Linked DNA regions of Homo sapiens: regions 1 and 2 are each linked to region 3. Evidence: promoter capture Hi-C in 16 types of primary human blood cells and fetal thymus (Javierre and others, 2016). All regions are on one chromosome and are shown on one strand. Each heading gives the region's core, a stretch centred on a gene start or on the middle of the fragment in contact. The rest is flanking DNA. Distances are from core to core; before and after follow the strand shown.

Region 1 (2,700 bases), core at 53-2,552, 520 kb after region 3:
GGAACAGCCAGCTGCTAGCAGCCTGAGTCCACTTCAATATTAGGATAAAAATTGCACACATTTCCCTTGGCTGTGACTCAGGATATCTTGGATTCATGAACTCACTGGGACTCTGAGTAATTTTGGAGAAGCTAAGATGATAACTTTCTCCCCCTTTCTTATTAGGTGTTGCCGTGATTCACAAGTCCTTGTGACCCAAACTCCTACTGCCAGGAGGTGGAGGAAGGAGCAGGTGCTGCCTGTGACTCTGAACAGCAGGACCTTGGTGACTGGATTCAACTTGCTTGGGAGGGTCTGTGCTGCTGTGAGAACCGCTCTCCTCTGACTTGGCAGACTGGTGTTGTTCATCGCAGTGTGGACACCATTACCCACCCCCGTTCCCCTGAGGTGCTCTGGCCTATGCCCTGAGCAAGGGGGGTCTTGACATCCCCAGGCAGCACCTTTGGGCTTTGTTTTGGTGTTTCTACAGGGACAATACAGACCCTGGAGTGTGTGTGTGTGTGTGTGTGTGTGTAGACCATGGTGTTTCTCTATGTTTCTCTAAGTTGGGGGGTGAGCGTGTGTGACAGTCTACTGGATTTCTTTACTACTGATCCTTTCGCTGTGTTAAAAATCAAGTCACAGAGACCTCTCTTCTGGATTTGTCCCATGGGGACCCTGAGACTACTAAAGCTGCTTTCTTCTGAAGGTCCAGTTGGACAGTCTGGGAATGTCCAGAAATAACCAGTGAGAGGGGCAGTTCTCTGGCCACACCCACTTATGTACTTTAACTACTGTGACTTTGTCTGCAGAAGAGCTGGAAAATTCTCGAAGCTGCACCGTGTCCTCTGTGTGCTAGAATAAGGGACAAATGGGTTCCCTGTGCTTCTCAGCTCACTGTTTTTCCTTGAGTTCTCCTACAGGAAGCAGATGAGAACTGCCCAGTCTTCAGGTTTAGGCCATTGGTCTTTGATGTCATAGATTCCAGGCCTGGGAGGTGTTATGTCTCTTCAGCTGGGAAAACTAGCTCTTCAGAGAAGCCTCGGGTAACACTGAAAAACAAAACAAAACAAAACAAAAACAGGAAAAAAACAAAAAACCAAAGTGGTAAGGATTCAGTTCCTGCCTATAATGGTCTCAGAGAGGGTCCTACTTTTAGGTTTTCCCAGGACAGGACAGTCCCCATTTATACTTATTATCCCAGTTTAATTATTCACAGCACCCCATTTTACTCAGAAGTGTTCTGGTCTGGAGGATAAATAAGAGGTCACCCTCCTCCAGACCCAAAGATAGATTTGTGCCTGTGTTGGATGGGGTCGTGTGTGATTCAGATGGACATTGGATGGCTTCAAAGGAATATACCACTAGAGCTGGCCCTTGGCACTTTGTGACAGTGGTCAAGTCTGTCTAATGTCCTTGTCTTCTTTTTCTTGTGCTTTCCCCCTATTCCAGGGTGTGCACCCTCTCCCCAACCCCCAAGAACCCCACTACTGCTTTCCCTGTGAGGTAGGAGATATCAGTGGGCCTTGGATTTGAGGCTTCCTAAGATGTGCTTGCATTTTAAAAAGGGAGCTTGGTGAGAGCTTTGCTAATTCACAGGTAAAAATTATTAACAATAGAACTTCAAGCATCTTGAGGAGCGGGCATTTGAGGGGGCATGGAGTAATTTGTATTTAAAAAACCTTAAAGTTGTGCTGTTCCTAAACTAGCAAATTGCTCATGCTGAAATTTCTGGCATAAGCAGGGGAAGTCTTGTGTCTGGAGAATAGTCTCATACCTTGCAGTCTGGGACACCCTCCCTACTTTGAGAATCCACCTACAGGAAGCCAAGGAACTTTATAAATCCTGATGTTGGACTTCTGATACGACTGGGCTACTTCCAAGCAGGTGCTGCAGGAGATTGGCATCCCCCAGCCCCTGCAGTTAGAAACCCCGAAGTCTTCCCAGCCAGTGAGCCACTTTGTGTATTTACTGTATATTTATTGTGCCCTAAATGTGCAACTCTCCTAAAGACAAAACTTCTCTTTCTGATGTTAAGCACATGTTACTTCAACAAGATGCTTGGAGAACAACAAGGTACCCAGAATTTTTAGAAGCCTTCAGAAGAGGCTAAAATATCCAGCTTTGGGGGACCTGGAAGAAATGTCTCCAAAGGAAGCAAGGCATGTTTTAGTTGAGTGCTCTGGTCTCACTATGAAGTGGGGATGACTGTGGCTTCATAACTCTACCTGGCTGTGGGTTGGAAGCTGATGGAATGAGAAATGTCCTTTCTCCTTCTCTGAGGAAATTTTGAGACTTGTTTCGGTGTGTCTGTGTGATGGGGATGAGGCTGGGGTTGGGATCTGATGTATGCCATTCACAGAAGCTCTCAATTTCAGATGATAGGTGAATTCCCTGCCCCTCCCCCACCACTGAGAAGCTAGACTTTCATGCGGGAGAGGCTACTTTTATGTGTCGTCTTCCGGGGAAGGGTCCCTCCACTGAAAGCTAGCCAGTCATGTTTTCTGTTTTTGGATTTTTGCAATTGGTTTCACCTCATGTCTCCCTCCCTACAAAGCACTGCCTCTACTGGGCGTGCTGCCAAGGCCATGTGCACTCCATCCTCATGTATCCTTTTTCACGGGGACCAGAACACTGGTACGTCATCACCAAAGCCAATCTGCTCTAGCTGCCCACAGATGCCACCAAAACCTGCTATCTCTTCATCACCAGGTACGATTC
Region 2 (2,700 bases), core at 47-2,546, 540 kb after region 3:
TGAAGAGGATCTCAAAGATTTTCACAGTCAGTTCTGCCCTGTAGCACAGGAAAATACCTTACTTGCACACCAGAGGCCCCTGTTTGATTTAGAAGTACAAATAGCTTAACAGCTACCAGCTCTCGAATTTCTTCCGTGTGCCAGGCACTCCCCTGAATAATTTATCTGCACCAGCTCACTTACTCTTCATAACAGTCCTGAGCACCTGGCATTAGCATCCCCATAGTGCTCATGATGAAATGGCTCAGAATGGTCAAGTAACTTGCCCAAAATTGCATGCTAGTAAAAAACGGAGGTAGGATTGGAATCCAGGTCTGTGTGGCATCAAAACCTTGATTAATCCTCTCCTTGGTCTCTCCCTCAGGGGATGTGATGCTCTTTGTTTTGGGGCTTATAGGCTCCTCTGCCTTTTTCCTGCTTTCTCCCTATGTTTTACTTGCACTAAATCAAATGCTTTTCCATCTCAATCCCAATCTCTCTTCAGCACCCTCCACGCCCCCCACCTGCTGCCCGCCTCTGCTAGTCTGCAAAGGCTAGGCATGTCTTAGGTAGGAACAACATATTTCATCCCAGGCACGCAGCTTAAAACGCAGGAGTCGTGGAGCAGATAAATTTGCCTGAGAAGTAAGCAAATGTCCCTTCTGGAGAGCAGAATTTGAAAGAGGCAGGGAGCTCAGCAGAGCAGGGGAGGAATGGGCATGGGAGAGCTGGGATCTGCAAAGTCACTAACCTCACCAGCTTCAGGCCTTAGACTGAGAGATTTATTCATTGTTTACCCACCGGGCTCTGGGTATCCCTTGACGACTAAGACCTGCCTCTAGGAGTCACATGCAGAGTGGGGAGAAAGTCAGGTACACACGGAAGCCTGCAGCTGCTGGAGAGTGCGGAGCTGGCATGTGAGGAAAGAGACTTCTCTTTGGGGCTGCATCCTTTTGGTGCCGGGTCATACTGAAGCTTCAGGTCATACTCTGCATCTTTTCTCACTGCTCTCTGTTTGGCTAGTTGCAAAGACCAACACCCCCTTCCCCTATCCCTTTTGAGGCTCAGATAAATTATTAAATATCAGGTAGTAAGTGCTACTCACTGCCTGGTTAGAAGCTGCCCATCACAACCCAAATCCTGCAAGCCAGGGAGTCTGTGTTCCTGATTTTTGGTTTAGAACCCACACTGAGCACTCCTGTTTGTTTTCTGTGTCTGCAGTGTCTTACTATTCATGGAAACATTTTACCTGAGGGTCTGGCCCTTGGGTGCCAATAGCTGTACTTTGGTTTCAACTGCTTTGGACGAAGAGGCATCACCTCATGTTGCTCCCAAAATCACTGTGATATGTCCCTGTGTTTTAGGTCGGACTATCTCAAATATATCCTTAAATATAAAGAAAAAATATCTCCAGCCTTTTCGCATGTTGTGCTGGGACAGAAATGTAATTTTCTTTGGAGGAACCTTGGTGATGATTTGCCCAAATCCCTGGCCTGGCAGAATTTGGTTCTGGAGGCATCCTGTCAGCTGTCTCTCTCCTTCCCCTGCAAGTTCCACCTCCTGCCTTTCTCTGCCTTCAGCCCTCTGGGATCCAACACACATAGATTTGCCTCTGGGTCTATTCCATGTGCAGACACCAAACCAAATGGGAAAGCTTCACCCCACCTAACTGGACCCTACTGGGGAAGAGAAATAAGTGCTGTTGTTTCTCATGATCCTGGTGATCTGATTCCCTTGAGGCCCCTGAGAGAGGTTGGTTTTGACTTCTTAGGTGTTGACCAGGCTCTTTCTGTTAATGTTAGACCTTGGGACTTAATATTAGCACATAATATTAGACCTAGGCCCTGGAGCAAATTGCTGTTTTTTTCTTGCTGGCTTGATTAGCATGTAATATTAGACCTGGGCCCATGTGTTCCATCCCGTTGGAGCACACTGTCTATGGGACTGGCAGCGGGGGCATCTGCCTTACTATCTGCCTCTCGTACAAACCCTGTGCTGACAATTCCAGCACTGTTTTTGTAGAAGCGCTGCCTCGAAATGGTAGGAGAGAGACAGAGTGCTCCCAAAGTCTCAGCATAATTTGGTTTTATTACAAGAGTTTTCATTTTGATGGCAACATTATTCTTTTCACAGAAGAAATTATCTTCAAATTATTTAATCTCACTCTTTTTTCTCTGGAGACACTTTGGGGTATATTGCTGCAGTCTTCGCAGATTGCTGGAAAGTAGCTAGCCTGTCTATCGTTTTAATCATTATCACAGGCCCACATTTGAAGGGGAAGAAAGTCTCTTGTTACCACAGAGACATTTGGTCCCTGAAATAATCCTGAAATATCTGTGCTTTCCAGAGTAGAAGCATTTAGGATCTTTTATTTCTCCAAAGGAAAATATTAACAGCCTAGGAAGAGCTGAAGATTTCCGTCAAGGAAGGTTAGGAAGGAGATTGACTCCACCATCTTTCTGGGGTAATGTGTTACTGTGAGATGCAGATCCTGGGCAGAATATTCATTTTAATTTTGCTGTGGCCTGGAATCTAGGAAGCATTACAAAATCATCATAGTAGTTGTTGATAATAGTGAAGTAGCCAGATAAGCTGGCATCTGGAGAAGAAGGCCCCTTAGGGGTAAGTGGTAGGGCTCAATCTGATATCACCAGGACAGGTGGCACCATGGTCCCCAGCTCCCAGCCCAGAAGCAGCCCTGGAGGGGAATACAAGGTGAGG
Region 3 (2,700 bases), core at 155-2,654:
CACCATGGCCCAATTCCTGCGAGACCTGATGCTGATGTTCCAAAATGCTGTAATGTACAATGACTCTGATCATCATGTATACCATATGGCTGTGGAGATGCGGCAAGAAGTCCTGGAGCAGATTCAGGTACTGTATGCAGATACCTGTAGCCTCTGGAATCTTGATTTCAGAACGCCTATGAGAATAAAGGTGATTTCGAGGTGACTGTGTTCTCAGAGTTTATTTTTAAAGGTGATTAAGGCCCTGAAGGATTGATAATGTGCCTGCTGGTTTGGAAAACCCTGAGCCTCAGTAAGTCCAGCTCTGATAGTGAAGTAGTCTAGGAATGCAGGCAGCAGTGAAGAGCTCTCAAGAGAGCTGAGGATAGACAAGTAATGGGAATTCCCGCTTCCAGAGCCTCAAGTCAAGGGCTAAACTCCAAAGAGGCTGGAGTCACTGTGTATTTTTTGGTTGCTTCATCTGTTGTTATTAATGTACGTTCACACTTTCCCATCTTTAGGGGATAAGATATAGTAGCTAGAAGACATTTGTGGGTTTCTTTTCTGGGTAGCATCATACTTTAAAGAAAAAAGTATAGTTGAGTCTATTTGCCAAAAAAATAAACTTGCAATACTTTAGTGTTTAAGGTTCATAATAGCTTGCTATGTGTTCCTTAACCCTTTAGGTACTGAATATCTGGTTAGACAAAAGAAAAGGCTCAAGTAGTCTGGAAGGAGAACCAGCTAACCCAGTGGATGATGGAAAACCTGTTTTCTAACCTGGAGCTGCTATCCTGACTTTTTCTAGAGTTTGAATCTCTCCCGGAACTCTGACCTAGAGAGGATCCTGGTACTTCTTTGCCATGTCCTCATTTTCTTTTCCAACAAGAATAATACCTTAACTCACAACCAACGAGTCAAAGATGCATGTGGACATAATATAAAGAAAAAAAGGGGAAGCTGAGGTTTGGATTTATGCCATAAATGTTGCCCACATCTTTGTTCCATCGGCTTGATTTAAAGACAATTCCATTAGATCTTTTCTAAGCCTTTTACTCTATAAATAAATGTATTTACACAATAGGAATATTGCTTTTTAATGACTAGATAAGCTGGGCATAGAGGGCACAGCATCATCTGGTGAAACGAAGGTATCTGACACGGGTCATTTACATATACCGCCTGGAAAGGAATGGTTGGGGGAGGGGTTCTTATCATTTATAGAGTAGGGATAATTGAAGCATCCTTCAAACGGGAAGAAGGATGAAATAAGATAAATTATGAGTAAAATGTCAGAAAACATCTAGTGCTCTAAGATTCACAAGGAGAATAAAAGTGACTGGCTGGCTCCCTTTGGTTAAAACGAACTGGCCAGAAGCTGCAAGGTTCCTTGCTGGGATTGGCTCTCTGCAGCCACCGTCCCCACGCTGGGGCTTCAGGTCTCCTAGCAACAAGTTGTACCATATGAGGACGGCCGCTGAGGTGAGTACTTAGAGAGGGTCAAATTCAGAATTTGCAGGTGCAACCCGGAAAGTCCCCGCGGACCTAGAGGCCCTGCTTTTCAATTAGCCTGACCCTATGCACAGAGAGGTCCCTGCGGGACAGGGTCGCTTCACAGAGGCAGCTGGCCGAGGCCGCTCACCCGCCGCTGTAATGGTGTGTGGTTGCCCACCAGCCACCGTCCCCTCGAGCCCCCACCACCCGCTCTACCGCCCCCTCGAGCCCCCACCACCCGCCCCACCGCCCTCTGCTGCCTGGGGCTGTTGCTGGTTCCAGGCCTTCGGGTCGCCCCTTGGCCTCTGGTTATGTGAGCCCATAGTCCTTCCTGCCTTGGTGACATCGTATACGAAAAGCCGGGGCTCGATTTGGACATAGTAGGAATCCTATTATTGAGACCCTGTATATAGAAAAACATGGCAGTTTCTACCTTCATCAGTTAATAAAATCAAGTACCTACTATTGCTATTCTTAATCATAATTACATTGAATTTGCGATGGGGGTGGGGGGAAATGCATGTCATTGCAGTTGATACCTGTTAAGAAACTCTTAATTTGTGCCCTGAAAAGCCATAATGGAGATATCAATGCCTCCACCTCAGATATATGTAGAAAAAACTCTGGCCATTATCAAACCAGATATTGTTGACAAAGAGGAGGAGATACAAGATATTATTCTTAGATCCGGATTCACCATTGTTCAGGTAACTTCTGGGTATGATGATTCATGCTTTTTTCCTCTCTGCCCTTAAAAAAAAAATGCTTATGTAAATGTGCCTACCCATTTAAACCCTTAGTGTTCAGCATTAAATTTAAGTTTATTCTTCTAAGTATAAAAGTTATATGTGATAGTTTTTAAAAGGATGTAAAATGAGAAATAAAATGGACTTTTCCTTCACCTGTCCTCTTTTACCCCAAGTCCCAGGCTCCAGAGAGAGGCAACCACTTAACACTTTCTGTTCTTCCAGGAGTTTTCTATGCATTTATAAACATTTTCCCCCCATAAAACAGAACAGTCCCTTTCCCTTGACCCCTTTACAGAGTCCCTCAGATAGGATTCCAGATCATTGCATCTGAATTGATCTCACTCTTCCTAATTTCTGTGTAATATTTCCCTGTGTATTAGAACTACAATTTATTTACTTGATCTTCTATTGATGGAATTTTAGGCTATTGGTACTTTTTTCAGTTATGGCATAACATTTAATGTTTTAAGCCTTATGT

Evidence for each region. Contacts are between HindIII fragments. The CHiCAGO score rates a contact against its expected background, and 5 or more counts as called.
Region 1: a fragment that was not itself captured here is called in contact with the fragment with the promoter of NME5 in region 3 in 6 of 17 cell types (naive CD8 T cells, total CD4 T cells, non-activated CD4 T cells and 3 more); the score reaches 10.6 in naive CD8 T cells.
Region 2: a fragment that was not itself captured here is called in contact with the fragment with the promoter of NME5 in region 3 in 2 of 17 cell types (total CD4 T cells and non-activated CD4 T cells); the score reaches 5.1 in total CD4 T cells.

What each region holds. Positions count from the first base shown.
Region 1 is chr5:137,619,592-137,622,291 of GRCh38, reverse strand. KLHL3 (kelch like family member 3) reads left to right here. Exons shown (of 15, transcript NM_017415.3): 15 at 166-2,700. The coding sequence ends at 194. Among named protein-coding and RNA genes, the nearest start is that of MIR874, 27 kb to the left of the region's middle. The HindIII fragment of the contact is 4,842 bases long and covers 1-2,700 here.
Region 2 is chr5:137,602,970-137,605,669 of GRCh38, reverse strand. No RefSeq gene overlaps it. Among named protein-coding and RNA genes, the nearest start is that of MIR874, 43 kb to the left of the region's middle. The HindIII fragment of the contact is 679 bases long and covers 957-1,635 here.
Region 3 is chr5:138,138,132-138,140,831 of GRCh38, reverse strand. NME5 (NME/NM23 family member 5) reads left to right here and starts at 1,404. Exons shown (of 6, transcript NM_003551.3): 1 at 1,404-1,461; 2 at 2,047-2,180. The coding sequence starts at 2,052. It overlaps BRD8 (bromodomain containing 8), which reads left to right. Exons shown (of 27, transcript NM_139199.2): 26 at 1-127; 27 at 666-1,062. The coding sequence ends at 758. The HindIII fragment of the contact is 15,003 bases long and covers 1-2,700 here.